Linked DNA regions of Homo sapiens: all the other regions are linked to region 5. Evidence: promoter capture Hi-C in 16 types of primary human blood cells and fetal thymus (Javierre and others, 2016). All regions are on one chromosome and are shown on one strand. Each heading gives the region's core, a stretch centred on a gene start or on the middle of the fragment in contact. The rest is flanking DNA. Distances are from core to core; before and after follow the strand shown. Region 1 overlaps ZNF225 (zinc finger protein 225). Region 2 overlaps ZNF283 (zinc finger protein 283). Region 3 has its middle 22 kb from the start of ZNF226. Region 4 overlaps ZNF283 (zinc finger protein 283). Region 5 holds the start of ZNF155 (zinc finger protein 155).

Region 1 (3,322 bases), core at 152-2,651, 130 kb after region 5:
AATCATTGAAAAAACTATAATATGAAAATTATTAGAGAGGGAGTAAATAGGTGAACTTGTCCAAGGTCATGTGACCAGGAAGGCACAGAGCCTTGGGATGTGCTTTTAGGCACACTGTCTGCAGATCATAGATCAATGCTGCAATCAATGTATGTAGTTTATGCCTTGAGAGTACACAGGATGTACTGTATAGCTGTCCCACACAGGTTACCACAAGCTTTGTTAGTTTGGTGGCAGATATTAAAGAAAAATGATAACATTCAGGGTTCAAGTATGAGAGAGAACAATGGGAATTATCAGGCAAGACTGGGACTGAATTGTTAAATGTTACTGGGGCAGTTGGCAAGATTCACTGAAACCTATATACGTGCAGCCCAGGATGCTGCATTTAGAGTCCTACAGGGTTACTTACAAGGAGACTCAGTAAGTGCACAAAGTAAACCTACAGGAGGTCTTTTCCATCACTGCACTTCTGGTGGAGCTCAGGAAAATCCATCATTATCAGGATACAGACAGAATGAATAGCAAATCTATGAGCTGGCTGGGCGCAGTGGCTCATGCCTGTAATCCCAGCACTTTGGGAGGCCGAGGCAGGCGGATCACCTGAGGTCAGGAGTTTGAGACCAGCCTGGCCAATGTGGTGAAACCCCATCTCTATTAAAAATACAAAAATTAGCCAGGCATGGTGGCAGGCACCTGTAATCCCAGCTACTTGGGAGGCTGAGGCGGGAGGATCACTTGAACCTGGGAATCGGAGGTTGCAGTGAGCCAAGATCATGCCACTGCACTCCAGCCCGGGCAACAGAGCAAGACTGTCTCAAAATAAATAAATAAATAAAATAAAATAATAAAAAAGGAAGTCTGTGTGTTGACCTATGTCTCTCAAGATCCAAAACAGCTTCTCATTCCTCCCCTCTGTCTGCTCAGTGCCACCCCTCTCTCAGTAGTCATTGGTCATGAGACTGAGGTTGCATATGTTCGATGCTGTAGGAGGCAGTGACCTTCAAGGACGTGGCTGTGGTCTTCACTGAGGAAGAGCTGAGGCTGCTGGACCTTGCCCAGAGGAAACTGTACCGAGAAGTGATGCTGGAGAACTTCAGGAACCTGCTCTCAGTGGGTGAGGACAGGCACCCTTTGTAAGGGAACATCAGGACCAGGAGTGGCTTTGTATCCTAGAGTGTTCAAGTTTGAGTATGCATTGGGAACCTAAGTTTCCAGTAAATTTTACTTAGATTTTTTTCTAGGATATATTGGCACTAAGCACATGACTTTTCACGTTCACAGGGCATCAATCACTCCACAGAGATACTTTCCACTTCCTAAAGGAAGAAAAGTTTTGGATGATGGAGACAGCAACCCAAAGAGAAGGGAATTTAGGTAAGAAGCAAGCAACTCTGTGTCCTTGTGCGTGACTCTCCCATCGGTTTCACTTCTGTCCATTGCCCAGCTCTGTTGTCCTGGTCTAAATGGCCAGACCTCTTTCCTGAATTATTACAGCTGACTTTCGGCTGGTTTCCCTGCTCCCACTTTTCCCACCCTGACATCTGTTTTCCTCATGGCAGCCAATGTATTCCTTAGGAAAGTCAGACTGCCATTCCTCGGCTCAAAAGCCTTTCTGGCTTCTTTTTTTTTTTTTTGAGATGGAGTCTCGCTGTGTCGCCCAGGCTGGAGTGCAGTGGTGCAATCTCGGCTCACTGCAAGCTCCGCTTCCCGGGTTCACGCCATTCTCCTGCCTCAGCCTCCTGAGTAGCTGGGAATACAGATGCCCGCCACCACGCCCGGCTAATTTTTTGTATTTTTAGTAGAGACGGGGTTTCACCGTGTTAGCCAGGATGGTCTCGATCTCCTGACCTCGTGATCCGCCCGCCTTGGCCTCCCAAAGTGCTGGGATTACAGGCGTGAGCCACCGCGCCCGGCTGGCTTCTTATGTTTACTTAAGTTACAAGTGTTTTAAGTGCCTTTTAGAGACCATGTGATCTGCTTTTCATCCCCCACCACCTCTCTGACTACATCTCCTGTCCTCTCCCTTTTGCCTTGTCCTTCCAGCCACGTTGTCCTCCCTACCGTTTCTCTGACCTGCCAAGGACACTGTATTGCCTGTTGTAGTAACCAATGACCACACATTTAGTCGACTAAACAACAAAAATTTATCATCTTTCTGTTCTTTAGGCCTGAAGTCTGACACGTCTCACCGGACAATTATCAAGCTGTCTGTAGGTGTTTGTTTCTTTCTGGATGCTCTTGAGGAGAAGCCTTTATTTTGGTTTACCAGTCTCTAGGCATTCCTTGGCTCTTGTTTCCCTTCCTCCATCTTCAAAGGCAGCTACTTTGCATTTCTGACCCTTCTTCCATAGTCATGCTCACTCTGCCACTCTTCTTATGCCTCTCTCTCCTGCCTTTCAGGTTCCTTGTAATTGTGTTGGTTACCCCTGGATGATTCACAATGACCTCTCTTTCTTGTTAGCTGATTAGTGACCTTAATTGCATCTGCAATCCCAGTCCCCCTTGCTGTGTAATATAACATGTTCATAGGTCTTGGGTACTGGATGTGGACATCTTTTATGAATCATTGTTCTGTCTACTACTGAAGCTTCTGCCTCAGAGCCCTTACTTGCTTTTCTGTCTGATCAGAATACTCTTTCACCTCAAAACTTTCTGGCTTCTCCTTTAAGCATATTCAAGTCTCTGTTCAGTTTTAGAGAGGCCATTTCCAACCACCCTATTTAAAATACTATTCTAGGCCAGGCGCGGTAGCTCACGCCTGTAATCCCACTACTTTCGGAGACCAAGGTGGGTGGATCACTGAGATCAGGAGTTTGAGACCAGCCTGGCCAACATGGTGAAATCCCATCTCTACTAAAAATACAAAATTTGCCAGGCGTGGTAGTGTGTGCCTGTAGTCTCAGTTACTCGGGAGGCTGAGGCAGGAGAATCACTTGAACCCAGGAAGCGGAGGTTGCAGTGAGCCGAGATGGCGCCACCGCACTCCAGCCTTGGTGACAAAGTAAGACTCTGTCTCAAAAAAACAAACAAAACACTGTTCTATTTTTTTCTTCTTGTGCTGTCTTGCACTGTGTCTTATATATTTCTGTTTACCTGTCACTTTTACCCCCAGGAATGTGATGTCTAAGAGGATGAATTTTAGCTGTTTTGCTCATGGCTGTCTATTCACAGGCTAGAAGGTATTGTTCTGGTACATGGCAGGTATCTAATTATTTGTTATCCTGATAAATAAATTAATGGATGAGGGGAACTTCAGTGTCTCCAGGAATCATGGAGATAGATAGCTAATAAGTGATACACAAACTAGAGTGAATGAGAG
Region 2 (3,216 bases), core at 81-2,580, 130 kb before region 5:
AAATTATCAGTCCATAAATGATTGAGAATTGAAAACAAAGTTTGTTCTTTCCCAGAAATAATTTGAGACAAGACTCACACTTTTCAAGACATGAGACAAGTGACAATTTAAATAAGAAATTCTTCACTTGCACCTCTCTGATTAGAATAGCAGAATATTCATACTATAGCAAGATTTGGCAAATGAGGGAATCAAAATTTTCTAATGCCTGTAACAGCATAAGATAATTTATACCAGATATGTTAAATGTGCAGAAGCCTTCCAACACTATTCAGTCTTTGTTAAACTTCAGTAAGTTCATCCTAGAGAGTAACTCTGTTAATGTAACAAATGTAGGAAAACCCTTATCCATGGCAAATACCATACTGTCATCACCATTTCACCTCCATACTACCTGTAGGATGGTGAGCAAAATGCTTATCTCTTCTGGACATGATGTTTCAAATGCTGATGGTAACTAATAATGCTGTTACAGAGATTAGATGGATTTAGTATGCATCATATCCTTGGAAGAGTATCTGGTATGTAGCCTATGCTTAATACATATTAGCTATTGTTCATATTGTCTTTATTATTAGTATTACTACTGGTGAATTCTTAGGAGAGGCACAACCGTTTTGAGGAATGAATTCAGAAAAGCTTCCCATAACCACTCATCCATTTGAATTTCAGATAGTTCATTCTGGATAAGATCTAGTACAGTATAAAGAATTTGAGGGGATTTTAATTCAGAGTTTATCCCTTAAGCTGAGCTAAAAAAATGAGACTTGAAAAAATCCAGACTTTTGAAGAGTTTAGGAAAGCTGTTTTATAGAATGTCACACATTAGTTTCATTCCTCATGGTGAAATTTGATATGGGCCTCTCCTTCACATTTCTCGTAACATGAAGTTGGAAATAGAGGCTTAAACATTTTTTACCAGAACACTTCATAGATGGTGATGTGTACTTCATCTTGCAATACCTCAGAAGCAGATAGTATCCATTTCCCCCAGTATCACCAGTGCCAAGTTTGATCACTTATGGTAACTACTGGAGTTGTCTGTTATAAAGATCCATTATATACCTAATAGGATTGGTCAGCCTTGATCAATGATCTTTGGAAATGTGTGATCATATGGTATGTATTTTACTTTTTTTTTTTTTTGGGACAGGATCTCTCTTTCTGTCACCAAGGCTGGAGTGCAGTGGTGTGATTTCGGCTCACTGCAACCTGCACCTCTCGGGTTCAAGTGATTCTCGTGCCTCAGCCTCCCAAGTAGCTGGATACACAGGTGTGCACCACCATACTGGCTAATTCTTGTATTTTTAGTAGAGATGGGGTTTTGCCATGTTGGTCCAGGCTGATCTTGAACTCCTGCACCTGCCTCAGCCTCCCAAAGTGTTGGGATTACAGGTGTGAGACACTGCGCCTGGCTATATTTTACTATTTGGAAATCACAATGCATCTTAAAATTGATGGCTTCTTGCAACCACTTTCAACCAGGTGCCTGTCATGATTTAGTGCTAGCATCAAGGCAGGTTAGTTATGAAGAAATAGAGTGTGTGTTTATATACTCACACAGTTAGAAATCGACCCTTTTAAAAATTATTTCTTTTTGAAAATAATGTCAGTTCCATCAGAACTAATGCATTGATAACTAAATGTCTGTGGTTCCTTGTCATAGGTCTACACCTGACCTCTCTATTTTGTGCACATAGGGGATTCGTAATATCACTGTTCAGTCAGTCATTCACCATCTAGTGATCATCATTCTACATGATTGCACTTTTTCAAAGGCATAAAAAGCCAACAGTTGCACTCTTAATAATCAACTGTAACACAAAGCAGAGTACTTTGGGAGTTTTAACAGGATATATTATTGGTAACTGGCTATTATGCCACTCCCTCTGGGTGCCACATTTGCCTGTTAACCAAGAAATGTAGACATGGTGCCTTATCCCAACATTTCTGAAATTATATCTCAAGGAATCACCAGTGCTTACTAGTACTTGACAATGAAGGAGGATTTTACAGTTAAAGAAGCTTATAAAGTAGCATCTACTAAATCCCCTCCTAAGGAACAAGCAAAAGCACCTCACCAGCTTATCAAAAGACTAAAGAGAAGTGAAAAAAAAAAAAAGACGGCCGGGCGCGGTGGCTCATGCCTGTAATCCCAGAACTTTGGGAAGCCGAGGCGGGCGGATCACGAGGTCAGGAGATCAAGACCATCCTGGCTAACACGGTGAAACCCCGTCTCTACTAAAAATAGAAAAAATTAGCCGGGCGTGGTGGCGGGCGCCTGTGGTCCCAGCTACTCGGGGAGGCTGAGGCAGGAGAATGGCGTGAACCCGGGAGGCAGAGCTTGCAGTGAGCCGAGATTGCGCCACTGCACTCCAGCCTGGGCGACAGAGCGAGACTCCGTCTCAAAAAAATAAAAATAAAAAAAGACTAAGGAGTATTCTAGTGAAGAAAATGGTTGAACTTTGTTTAAACTGGTGTATGGCAAACTTCACTGTTGAAATACTTATTCCCATGACCTATTATCTTTGTAGGTGGGTGAAATTGCATTGGGAACTGCTGCTATAACCAAAAGAGAATTTCAGTCACCATGTCTGGTTGTTAGCTATGATGGAATGGCAGCATCATGGTCTCAGTTATGAGTGAAAATCTTTGTTGTAGCTAAGTAGTGGTGCCTCCTGAGTTTTATTAAATGCCGTTTCACTATCTTTTTCTGCACTTCTATAGTATTTAATTTGTTCATGTGATAATTTATTCTGATAGATTCACTGACTTTTTCCCATTCCTGGATATTCCAGGTTAGTCATAGTATCCTTCTGATGCATTGCTTGATTTCATTTTGCCATTTTATTTAGTATTTTTGCATCTCATGAGTGAGATTATATAATAGTTTTCTTTTTTATTGTATTTTTGTTTGTTTTGGTATTGCAATAGCCTGTTTTTTAATATTGTATGATCCTATTAGGTTATTTTGTTTGATCCTTGACCACTTTTCTAGTTCCATCTGTTGCATTTTTTTTTGTCTTTTAATTCCTACTTCAGACATAACAGATTTATTGAGTGTTAGCACAGTTCCTTTAAGGAGCCTTCATAGCCATGTAGTACTAGCCAAGATCCGCATAAAAGACGCATCCCAGCATGGCCCCTAAAATCCTTCATTATGTGCTCTTAAGAATAATGTGTTGGGAAGTCAGAACTTCCTTATAGGGCTGTTAT
Region 3 (3,218 bases), core at 544-3,043, 200 kb after region 5:
GTGTGAGGTGATATCTCATTACAGTTTTGATTTGCATTTTCTAAAAGATTCATGATATTGAACATCTTTTCATGTACTTATTGACAATTTATGTATCTTCTCTGGACATGTGTGTTTAAGAACTTTGCCCATTTCTTTCATTGGATTATTTGGGGTTTTTTTGTTGTTGTTGTTATAGAGTTGTAGAAGTTTCTTATATAATCTGGATATTAACCCTTTATCAGATATATAACTTGCAATTTTCCTCCATTCTGCAGGCTACCTTTTCACTCTGTTGATTGTTTCTTTTGATGCACAGAAGTTTTTGAGTTTGATATAATCCCATTTGTCTATTTTTCTTTCCATTATCTGTGCTTTTGTTGTGATAGCCAAGAAATAATTGCCAAATCTAATGTTCTGAAGGTTTTCCTTTATATTTTCTTCTAGGATTTTAACAGTTTTAGGTCTTACATTTAGGCCTTTAATCCATTTTTATTTAATTTTTGTATACAATGTAAGGTAAGGGTCTAACTTTATTCTTTTGCATATGGATATCCAGTTTTCCCATTACCATTTTTTGAAGAGACTGTCCTTTCCTCATTGTGTAATCTTGGCACTCTTGTCAAAATCATTTGGTTATATATGCAGGGGTTTATTTCTGGGTTCTGTGTTATATTGGTTATATGTCTATATGCCAGTACCACGTCATGTTAATTACTGCTGCTTTTGAAGTATGTTTTGAAATTAGGGAGTGTGAGGCATCTGAGATTGCATACAAATTTTAGAATTTTTTTTTCCTATTTCTGAAAAAAAGTCATTGGGATTTTGATAGTGATTGCATTGAATCTGTAAATCACTTTGTGTAGCATGGAAATTTTAACATTATTAAGTCTTCAAACCCCTGAGTACAGGATGAGTTCCCATTTATTTGTATCTTCTTAGATTTCTTCTTTTATTAATAACAATGTTTTGTAGTTTTCAATGTAAAAATATTTCAGTTATTTGATTAAGTTCTTTCCTCAGTATTTTACCCTTTTTGATGCTATAGTAAATGAAATTTTCTTTTCACGTTGGTGATTGCTAGTATATAGAGATGCAACTGATTTTTTAGTGCTAACTTTGTATCTTGCAACTTTGCTGAGTTATTAGTTGTAGCTTTTTTGTGTACGTGGGATCTTTCTACATATAAGACCAAGTCATCTGCAAATGGAGAAAATTTTAATTCTTCTTTCCAATTTGGATGTCTTTTTAAAAACTTTCTGATTGACCTGGCTAGAATATCCAGTACTATGTCAAATAGTAGTGGTAAGTTGGGCATCCTTGCCTTGTTCCTGATCTTAGAGTAAAAGCTTTCAGTATTTCTCCATTGAATATGATATTAACTGTGGGCTTTTCATATATGGCTGTCATTATATTTAGGTACTTTCCTTTCATTTCTAGTTAAGTGGTTTTTTTTTTTTAATCATGAAAGGCCCTTTATTTTGTTATGTGGTGTATTACATTGATTGATTTTTATATGTTGAATTATACCAGGTATAAATCTTGCCTGATCATGACCTGTGATTCTTTTAGTGTGCTGTTAAATTTAGTTTGCTAGTGTTTTGTTTAGGATTTTTGCATCAATATTTATCAGAGATATTGGTCTACAGTTTATTTTCTTGTGTGTCTTTGCTTTTGGTATCAGGTTAATGATGACTTATAGAATGAGTTTGAGAGTGTTCCTTCCTCTTCACTTCTTTGGAAGAATTTAAGAAGAATTTGTATGTTAATTCTTCTTTAAATATTTGGTAGAATTCTGCAGTGAATCCATCAGGTCCTAGAGTTTTCTTTCTTAGGAGGCTTTTGATGACTACGTCCAATGCCTCACTAGTTATACACCTGTTCAGTTGTTTTCTTAAAATTTCTTCATGATTAAGTCTTGATAGGTTGCATATTCCTAGTTTATCCATTTCTTCTAGGTTATCCAATCTGTTGGTGTATTCTTCTTCATAGTAATCTCTTATACTTTTTTTATTTCTGTGACATCAGTCATAATGTCTCCTCTTTCATTTCTAATTTTAAATATTTGAGTCTTCTCTTTTTCTTAATCTAGCTAAGAAATTAATTTTAATTATTTTTACTAATTAATTTGTCAATTGTGTTAATCTTTTCAAAACAGACTCTTAATTTTCTTTTTAAAAGTTATTTTCTTCTCTCTATTTTCTACTCTAATCTTTACTATTTTATTCCTTCCGCTGACTTTTGGTTTGCTTGTTCTTCTTTTCCTATTTCCTTAAAGTATAAGCTTAGGTTGTTGATTTGAGATATTTCTTGTTTTTAAAGGTAAGTGTTTACCAATATAAATGTCCCTATTTGGATTGCTTTCACTGCATCTCATAAGTTTTGAAATGTTGTATCTCTGTTTTTATTTGTCTCCTGATGTTTTCTAAATTCCTTTATGATTTATTTTTTGGCCCATTGGTTGTTTAAGCATGCATTGTTTAATTTCCACATATTTGTGGAATTTCTTGTTTTCCTTCTACTATTAATTTGTAGTTTTATTCCAGTATAGTTAGAGAAGATACTTTGTATAATTTCAGTCTTCCTAAATTTATTAAGACTTGTAATATAGCCTAACATGGTCTATCTTGGAGAATGTTTCATGCACACTTGAGAAGAATGTGCATTTTACTGTCGTTAGGTGAAGTGTTCTGTATGTATCTGTTAGATCCAGTTGGTCTTTAGTGTTGTTCAAGTCCTCCGTTTCCTCATTGATCTTCTGTCTAGTTCTATCCATAATTGAAAGTGGGATATTAAAGTATCCTACTATTATTGTGTTGCTGTTTATTCCCCATTCAGTTCTGTCAATGTTTGTTTTATATATTTGGGCACTCTAATGTTAGGTGCATATATATTTACGTAGCCCTCTGTATCTGCAGGTTCTGCATCCACAGATTCAACTAATCTTGGATCAAAAATATTTGAAAAGAATGAACCGTTGCATTTGTACTGAATATGTACCAACTTTTTTGGGTGATTATTCCCTAAACAATACAATATAATGACTATTTGCATGGTATTGACATAATATTAGGAATTATAAATAGCCCAGAGATGATTTAAAGTATATGAGAGGATGTGCATAGGTTATATGCAAATATTGTGCCATTTTATGTAAGGGACTTGAGTATCCATGGATTTTGGTATCCACAGAGTGTCCTGGAACTAATCCCCTGTGAATACTGAGGAACAACTGTCAT
Region 4 (3,301 bases), core at 644-3,143, 150 kb before region 5:
GAGTGCAGTGGTGCAATGTCAGCTCACTGCAACCTCCACCTCCCAGGCTCAAGCGATCCTCCCACCTCAGAGGGAAGGTAGCTGGGACCACAGGTGTGTGCCACCATGCCCAGCTAATTTTTCATGTTTTTGATAGAGATGGGGTTTCACCATGTTGCCCAGGCTGGTCTTGAACTCCTGAGCTCAAGCAATCCGCCTCCTTTGGCCTTCCAAAGTGCTGGAATTACAGGCGTGAGCCACCACACCCAGCACTTTGGAATATTTTTATTTAAATCCTTTTTCCTTTGAGCCTATGGGTCTGTTTTTTTTTTCTTTTTTTCTGCAGAATAAAATTATAGTAATTGGTGATGTAAATGAATTGAAGACTCTTTAGTTCTTAGTTTGAAAAAAAAATCCAACCCAGTTCTAGGTTTTATGTTAATCTTGAATATTTAGGGAGAAGAGGGAAGTACTAGTGATTCCCTTATTTGAAAACCTTCAAATATTTACAACTTCTGGGATTATAGAAATGTCATTTAAAAATGAATTACCAGGCAAAAAAGAGTTTTAGAATTAGATTATTTTAAAGGTTACCTCTACAGACAATGGCAATAATCTCCAATATACAGCCATCTTACAAAAAATACATTTTACAGATAATATTTCCAAGGACAGGTGTAAATACCAGGAGGTAGAATAAGAAGGTTCTTGTTGTAAATGTTTAAGTAAACCACCAATTTGTACAGAAGACTGAGCCTTTGGTTAAGTTCTCAGCTTTATACCTAATCAGGTTGTATTTTCTGATGCAGCTTAATGATGCTGAATCTCTATGTAACTTCTGGGAGGAAGGGGTATTTTCCTCTATATGTTTCTGAGAACCTGTTTTGCTCACATTGTTATTTAGGAAGAATAGCAGACTCAAGGTTGACCTGTGAAATTTGAGTTCACGTTATAAGAAAGCAGGTCTGAGAAAGACACATTTTACTGTGAGCAAAATAGAGTAGCCTTAAGTTTCTTTGGCATAACAGGATAAGGGACAGTAACATTCTTCATTTTCAATAATAATGATGAAAATGTGGCCAAGCCTGGTGGCTTGCACCTGTAATCCCAGCACTTTGGGAGGTCAAGGCAGGAGGATTCCTTGAGCTCAGGAGTTCGAGACCAGCCTGGACAACACAGTGAGACCCTTTCTTTACAAACAATTTTAAAGAAGAATCATTAGTCGGGCAAGGTGGCGTGCACCTGTGGTTCTAGCTACTGGGGATGGAGGCTGAGGTAGGAGGATCACTTGAGCCCAGGAGGTTGAGGCTGCAGTGAGCTGTGTTTGTGTCACTACACTCCAGCCTAGGCAACAGAGCAAGACCCTGTCTCTGAAAAAAAAAAAAAAAAAAAAAGACAACTTATAAACAATTATCATATACCATTCAGTATTTTGTATGGATTTCTTACTTACTCTTCTATGGTAGACACTGTTCTCACCCGTCTTACTGATGAGGAAACAGAGGTATTGAGAAATGGATAACTATCAAGCTCAAATTCACATCCTAAAGCTCTCACACCAGAACTTTTATCTTAATTTCAATAGAATATGCCTCCCACATTATGTTAGTTACAAACCGGCCTGCCTAAGGAATTGATCATGCATGTCTTTCTTCATCAATTAATATGAACCAACACCATCATAACTAATGAGGATATGGTGGGCCATAATTTATTAAACCTTTTGCTTACTATTACGTAGTTTCTCATTTTTGGTTACCAGAAATTATTTTTGGTTGAGTACCCTTGTGTATTCATCTTGTGTGTTTCTTTCTTCTTTACCTATTTCTTTTTTTTTTTTTTTTTCAGATGGAGTCTCGCTCTGTCGCCCAGGCTGGAGTGCAGTGGTGCGATCTTGGCTCACTGCAAGCTCCGCCTCCTGGGTTCACGCTATTCTCCTGCCTCAGCCTCCTGAGTAGCTGGGACTACAGGTGCCCGCCACCACACCCAGCTAATTTTTTTTGTAGTTTTAGTAGAGACGGGGTTTCACCATGTTAGGATGGTCTCGATCTCCTGACCTCGTGATCCACCCACCTCGGCTTCTCAAAGTGCTGGGATTACAGGCATGAGCCGCCGTGCCTGGCCCTTCTTTACCTATTTCTTAAGGATACATTTCTAGAAGTGAAGTTTTGGGTAAAGAATTTGCCCCAAATGCCTGACCCTGTGATACTTGTACTTAGCGGGTAATACAGTGTTTGGAAGACATAGTTGTTACCTTGGAGACCAAATATGCCTTGGGGTAAGCATAAGGCAGCCAGCAGTCAGCAACAAAGGCCAGTAGGCAATCCAGGGGACCTGCTTTAGGAACTCATAGGAAGGCAGTTATAAGCAATACCGTTGAACCATGATCAAGCATTTGGAGGCAAATGGAATTTATTCTGTAAGGTTTATACTTTATAGTTTTTATTCTACTAATGTTGGTTGCAAAGTGAGCCTAATAGGATCAGGTGATTCAGTTATCTGGATTCAGTTATCTGGAGAGTACCATGTCTAAGACAGGTTCAGATACAAAATAAATCCATCAGTCAAGATAAGAAAAGTAGAATCAAAACCTCATTAATGGAAGGGGAACAAAAAAATAAATAAAACCTCCCCTCAAAAAATGAAAAAAAAGGATGAAATTCCTCAACTTAGGCCATGAATATATTAATATCATTTCATTAATATTATTCCATTAGTATTATTCCATTAATATATACATGGCATAACTTGGGGAATTTCATCCTTTTTTTTTCTAGGCAAGACATAGGCATATGTAGAAATTATACAGTTCATGTAATGTATGGCCATGGTTACAATGATTGTGTGGATTACCTAAACAGAAAACATTATGATCATAATGAAAAGATAAATGTTATTAATATATATAGATATATAATTTTATTTTTTATTTTTTATTTTATTTATTTATTTTTTTCGAGATGGAGTCTTGCTCTGTCACCCAGGCTGGAGTGCAGCAGCGCGATCTCGGCTCACTGCCAGCTCTGCCTCCCGGGTTCACGCCATTCTCCTGCCTCAGCCTCCTGAGTAGCTGGGACTACAGGCGCCTGCCACCACGCCTGGCTAATTTTTTGTATTTTTGTAGAGACGGGGTTTCACCGTGTTAGCCAGGATGGTCTCGATCTCCTGACCTCATAATCCACCCACCTCAGCCTCCCAAAGTGCTGGGATCATAGGCCTGAGCCACCTCACCTGGCCTGTTTCTTTCTTGAGATGTATAACTTTCTAAACATTTTTTCATCTATTGATGTGATTGTCAGTCTTTCTGTATTGATATATATGT
Region 5 (3,347 bases), core at 413-2,912:
CATCCTGGCTAACACGGTGAAACCTCTTCTCTACCAAAAATACAAAAAAATTAGCCGGGCATGGTGGCGAGCACCTGTAGTCCCAGCTACTCGGGAGGCTGAGACAGAAGAATGGCATGAACCTGGGAGGCAGAGCTTGCAGTGAGCCGAGATCGCGCCACTGCACTCTAGCCTGGGCGACAGAGCAAGACTCCGTCTCAAAAATAAAATAAAATAAAATAAAATAAAATAAAATAAAATAAAATAAAATAAAATAAAAGCCAGGCAGGCTATGATATTTTGTGACTAAAAAATATTGGTACTGAGAGGTGGGCTTGCTGCTGCAACAAATACCTAAAAATGTAGCAGTCTTTGGAACTATGTAATGGATAGAGTCTAGAAGAGTTTTTACATGTATGCTAGGAAAAGCCTACATTGCCATGAATGGACTGATAAGGACAATTCTGGTTAGCGCTCAGAAATAGAGAATAAGAACTGTAGAGAAAACATCAATCTTGTTAGAGCATACCTAGGTAGTCATGATCAGAATGTTGGTAGAAATATGGACAGTAAAGGCCATTCTGAAGACCTCAGTCAGAAATGTTGAACATGTTATTGGAAGAGAAGAGAGCTTCTTGTTATAAAGGGACAAAGAATTTGGCTGAATTATATTCAGGTGCTAGTGTTTTATGGAAGGTAGAATTTGTGAATGATATAATTGTTTATCTGAATTAATTTCTAATCAAAGTGTTGAAGTTGCTTGAATCATCTTGACTACCCGTAGTGAAAGGCACGAAGTGAGGAATGACTGAAATAATTATTAATTAAAAGGGAAACAGAACTAAAATTTTTAAAAGTTTACAGCCTATCTACTTTGGAAAAAAAAAAAAACAGGAAACCTGAAGAATACAAGGGTATGGTTAAGCAACTAACTAATTCATGAATTTAGTATGGATTGGCCATGTCAACTGAAGCCAGGACCTATTGTCCAAGACAATGGAAGAATGACCCCAAAGGCATTTCACAGATTATGGCAGCTTCTCCTCCCATCACAGGCCCAGAGTGCAAGGACCTGGGGGACAGAAAGGGCCTTTGATGCCAGATATACCCTAATATATTAGGCACAGTTTCCTGCCTACTACGATTGAGCGTGTCAATAAATTTTTATCTCTTGGGAGGGCAGAACAGAGCAAGGATACAGCTGTAACTGGTTTAGAAATAGCAGTCACTCAATTTTCAGAGAAGTGTTCCTCATACTGTGGTTGGCACAGTCACTTTATCTAAAGAAAACCATGAAAAGTATTCTTTTTTAGTTTAGAAAAATTGATATAGAACATGAGACTCCATTTTTTTAAAATAAAAATATAGGTTGATAGGCCAGAATTCACAGGTCCACCTGCCTGAGCCAAAATTCTCACGCCTCCACAGAGCAAATGGACTCCATTTCCCAAGATACCAGCGAAACGCCTGCGGGAGTCTAATTGCCCGGTCGATGCGCAGGAAATTTGGCTCCCGCAGGCGTTTCGCGAGTAGCTTGGGAGGCGTGGGAATTTTGGCCCAGGCAGGAGGACCTGTGAATTCTGGGAAGTGGAGTCCATTTGCTCTGTGGAGTCGTGGGAACTTTGGCTCAGGCAGGCGGATTCGGGGGATTCTGGGAAGTGTAGTCCAGACGCCTGTGGCATCATCGACACTTCCGGTCTCCGAGCAGGACACTGCTACTTAACAAGGTGGTTTGAGCCAAGTATGTGTCTTGCGGGTCTTTGCGAAAGTGAACCAGTTATTAGGGGCGCCTAACGACCTGGGGGGTCAACTAAGGGGGTAAGAAGCCCTGGAGAAGACCTGAGGTTTGGAGATGCGAGGGGTGGGAGGGAAGTTTCGTTGCCGTCGATGGAGCCTTCTGGCGTTGGGGGCTGTACTCAGGTCCACCGGAGGAGTCGTCGGGGGTTCGGGGGGGGCGGGGAAGAACTCTGTCTAGTCTTGTGTGCCTGTTTAGAGGGTTTTCCAGGTGTTTGACCTCGTTCAGTCCGCCTCCCTCCACTCTTAAGTGTGCGACCTCTTTCTCGCGATATAACGTGGGGTGTTACTTAATCTCCCTGTACCTCCCATTGCCGTTTTTTAAATGAGGATTTCAGGACCATCCTGATAGAATTGTTTTAGGAGTTGAAAGTTGTGGTATAAAACAAAGACTTAACAGCTCCTGTCACTTGGTGTCCTGTTAATTTCCCGCGAAGTGGTCAGGTGCCCGGGTGGGGTCAGAGCTCCAGCTGCTCCGGCCCTTCTCTTGGAGCCCGGCAGGGCTCTGGATGATCCCGGACGCCTCTGACCTCTTTTTAGGAAGGCGTGGGTTGCATCCACGTTTCACGAAGGGAGAGGAGCATTTAACTTGTATCCGGGACGGCGACGCAGAGTGTTTGACAGCTTTCTCCTTCCCCAGCCTGACTTTTCTAAAAGAGCTGCAGGGAGGGACTTGGCTACTGAGGACAAAGCTGTCTACACGAGTGGTCTTTGGCTTTTCTCTTTTTAAAAAAAAGTTATTTATTTTGTTAGTCTGTTTTTATTATTGTTATTATTTGAGAATGAGGTTTGCTCTGTCTCCCAGGCTGGAGTGCAGCAGTGGCGCGATCTTGGCTCACTGCAACCTCCGCCTCCTGGGTTCAAGCGATTCTCTGTCCTCAGCTCCGGAGTAGCTGGGATTACAGGCATGCGTCACCATGCCCGGCTAATTTTTGTATTTTTAGTAGAGACGGGGTTTCACCATGTTGGCCAGGCTGGTCTCGAACCTGTGGTCCTAAGTGATCCGCCTGCCTCGGCCTCCCAAAGTGCTGGAATTACAGGTGTGAGCCACCGCGCCGGGCCGGTTTTTTCTTTTACAGAGATGTTCACCTCAACCAAGAGTGTATAGGATGTGTCCTTGGGCATGGGTGTTGATAATAATTAAACCTTAATTGGTAACTTAATTCTAAGGGCTTTATGGAAATAAATACATTTACGCCACACCATGGCTCTGTGGAAAGGTATTGCTCTTTTTCTTTTTTTTTTTTTTTTTTTTTTCCTGAGACGGAGTCTCGCTCTGTCGCCCAGGCTAGAGTGCAGTGGCGCGATCTGGGCTCAGTGCAATAGGCCGCCTCCCAGGTTCAGGCGATTCTCCTGCTTCAGCCTCCTAAGTAGCTGGGATTACAGGTGCGCACCACCACGCCCAGCTAATTTTTGTATTTTTAGTAAAGATGGGGTTTCACCGTTTTGGTCAGGCTGGTCTGAAACTCCTGACCTCGTGATCCGACCGCCTTGGCCTCCGAAAATGCTGGGATTACAGGCGTGAGCCACCGCGCCCGGTCGCTCTTTTCCATTTTAAATATGGGAGTGAGACA

The links. The method cuts DNA at HindIII sites, captures the fragments that hold promoters and counts their contacts. A CHiCAGO score of 5 or more calls a contact.
Region 1: a fragment that was not itself captured here is called in contact with the fragment with the promoter of ZNF155 in region 5 in 14 of 17 cell types (neutrophils, monocytes, M2 macrophages and 11 more); the score reaches 9.6 in neutrophils.
Region 2: a fragment that was not itself captured here is called in contact with the fragment with the promoter of ZNF155 in region 5 in 13 of 17 cell types (M2 macrophages, naive CD8 T cells, M1 macrophages and 10 more); the score reaches 10.5 in M2 macrophages.
Region 3: a fragment that was not itself captured here is called in contact with the fragment with the promoter of ZNF155 in region 5 in 12 of 17 cell types (non-activated CD4 T cells, total CD4 T cells, monocytes and 9 more); the score reaches 8.0 in non-activated CD4 T cells.
Region 4: a contact is called between a fragment that was not itself captured here and the fragment with the promoter of ZNF155 in region 5, in 6 of 17 cell types (naive CD8 T cells, fetal thymus, total CD4 T cells and 3 more). The highest score is 7.2, in naive CD8 T cells.

Annotation. Positions count from the first base shown.
Region 1 is chr19:44,117,198-44,120,519 of GRCh38, forward strand. It overlaps ZNF225 (zinc finger protein 225), which reads left to right. Exons shown (of 5, transcript NM_013362.4): 3 at 991-1,117; 4 at 1,285-1,377. Among named protein-coding and RNA genes, the nearest start is that of ZNF225, 5.5 kb to the left of the region's middle. The HindIII fragment of the contact is 2,373 bases long and covers 216-2,588 here.
Region 2 is chr19:43,849,310-43,852,525 of GRCh38, forward strand. ZNF283 (zinc finger protein 283) reads left to right here. Exons shown (of 7, transcript NM_181845.2): 7 at 1-2,708. Among named protein-coding and RNA genes, the nearest start is that of ZNF283, 24 kb to the left of the region's middle. The HindIII fragment of the contact is 1,386 bases long and covers 638-2,023 here.
Region 3 is chr19:44,185,449-44,188,666 of GRCh38, forward strand. It overlaps a transcript of ZNF226 not described here. Among named protein-coding and RNA genes, the nearest start is that of ZNF226, 22 kb to the left of the region's middle. The HindIII fragment of the contact is 935 bases long and covers 1,327-2,261 here.
Region 4 is chr19:43,831,678-43,834,978 of GRCh38, forward strand. ZNF283 (zinc finger protein 283) reads left to right here. Exons shown (of 7, transcript NM_181845.2): 4 at 1,828-1,949. The coding sequence starts at 1,828. Among named protein-coding and RNA genes, the nearest start is that of ZNF283, 6.0 kb to the left of the region's middle. The HindIII fragment of the contact is 7,984 bases long and covers 1-3,301 here.
Region 5 is chr19:43,982,526-43,985,872 of GRCh38, forward strand. It overlaps ZNF155 (zinc finger protein 155), which reads left to right and starts at 1,663. Exons shown (of 5, transcript NM_198089.3): 1 at 1,663-1,720. RefSeq lists a silencer at 1,360-1,559. The HindIII fragment of the contact is 8,717 bases long and covers 1-3,347 here.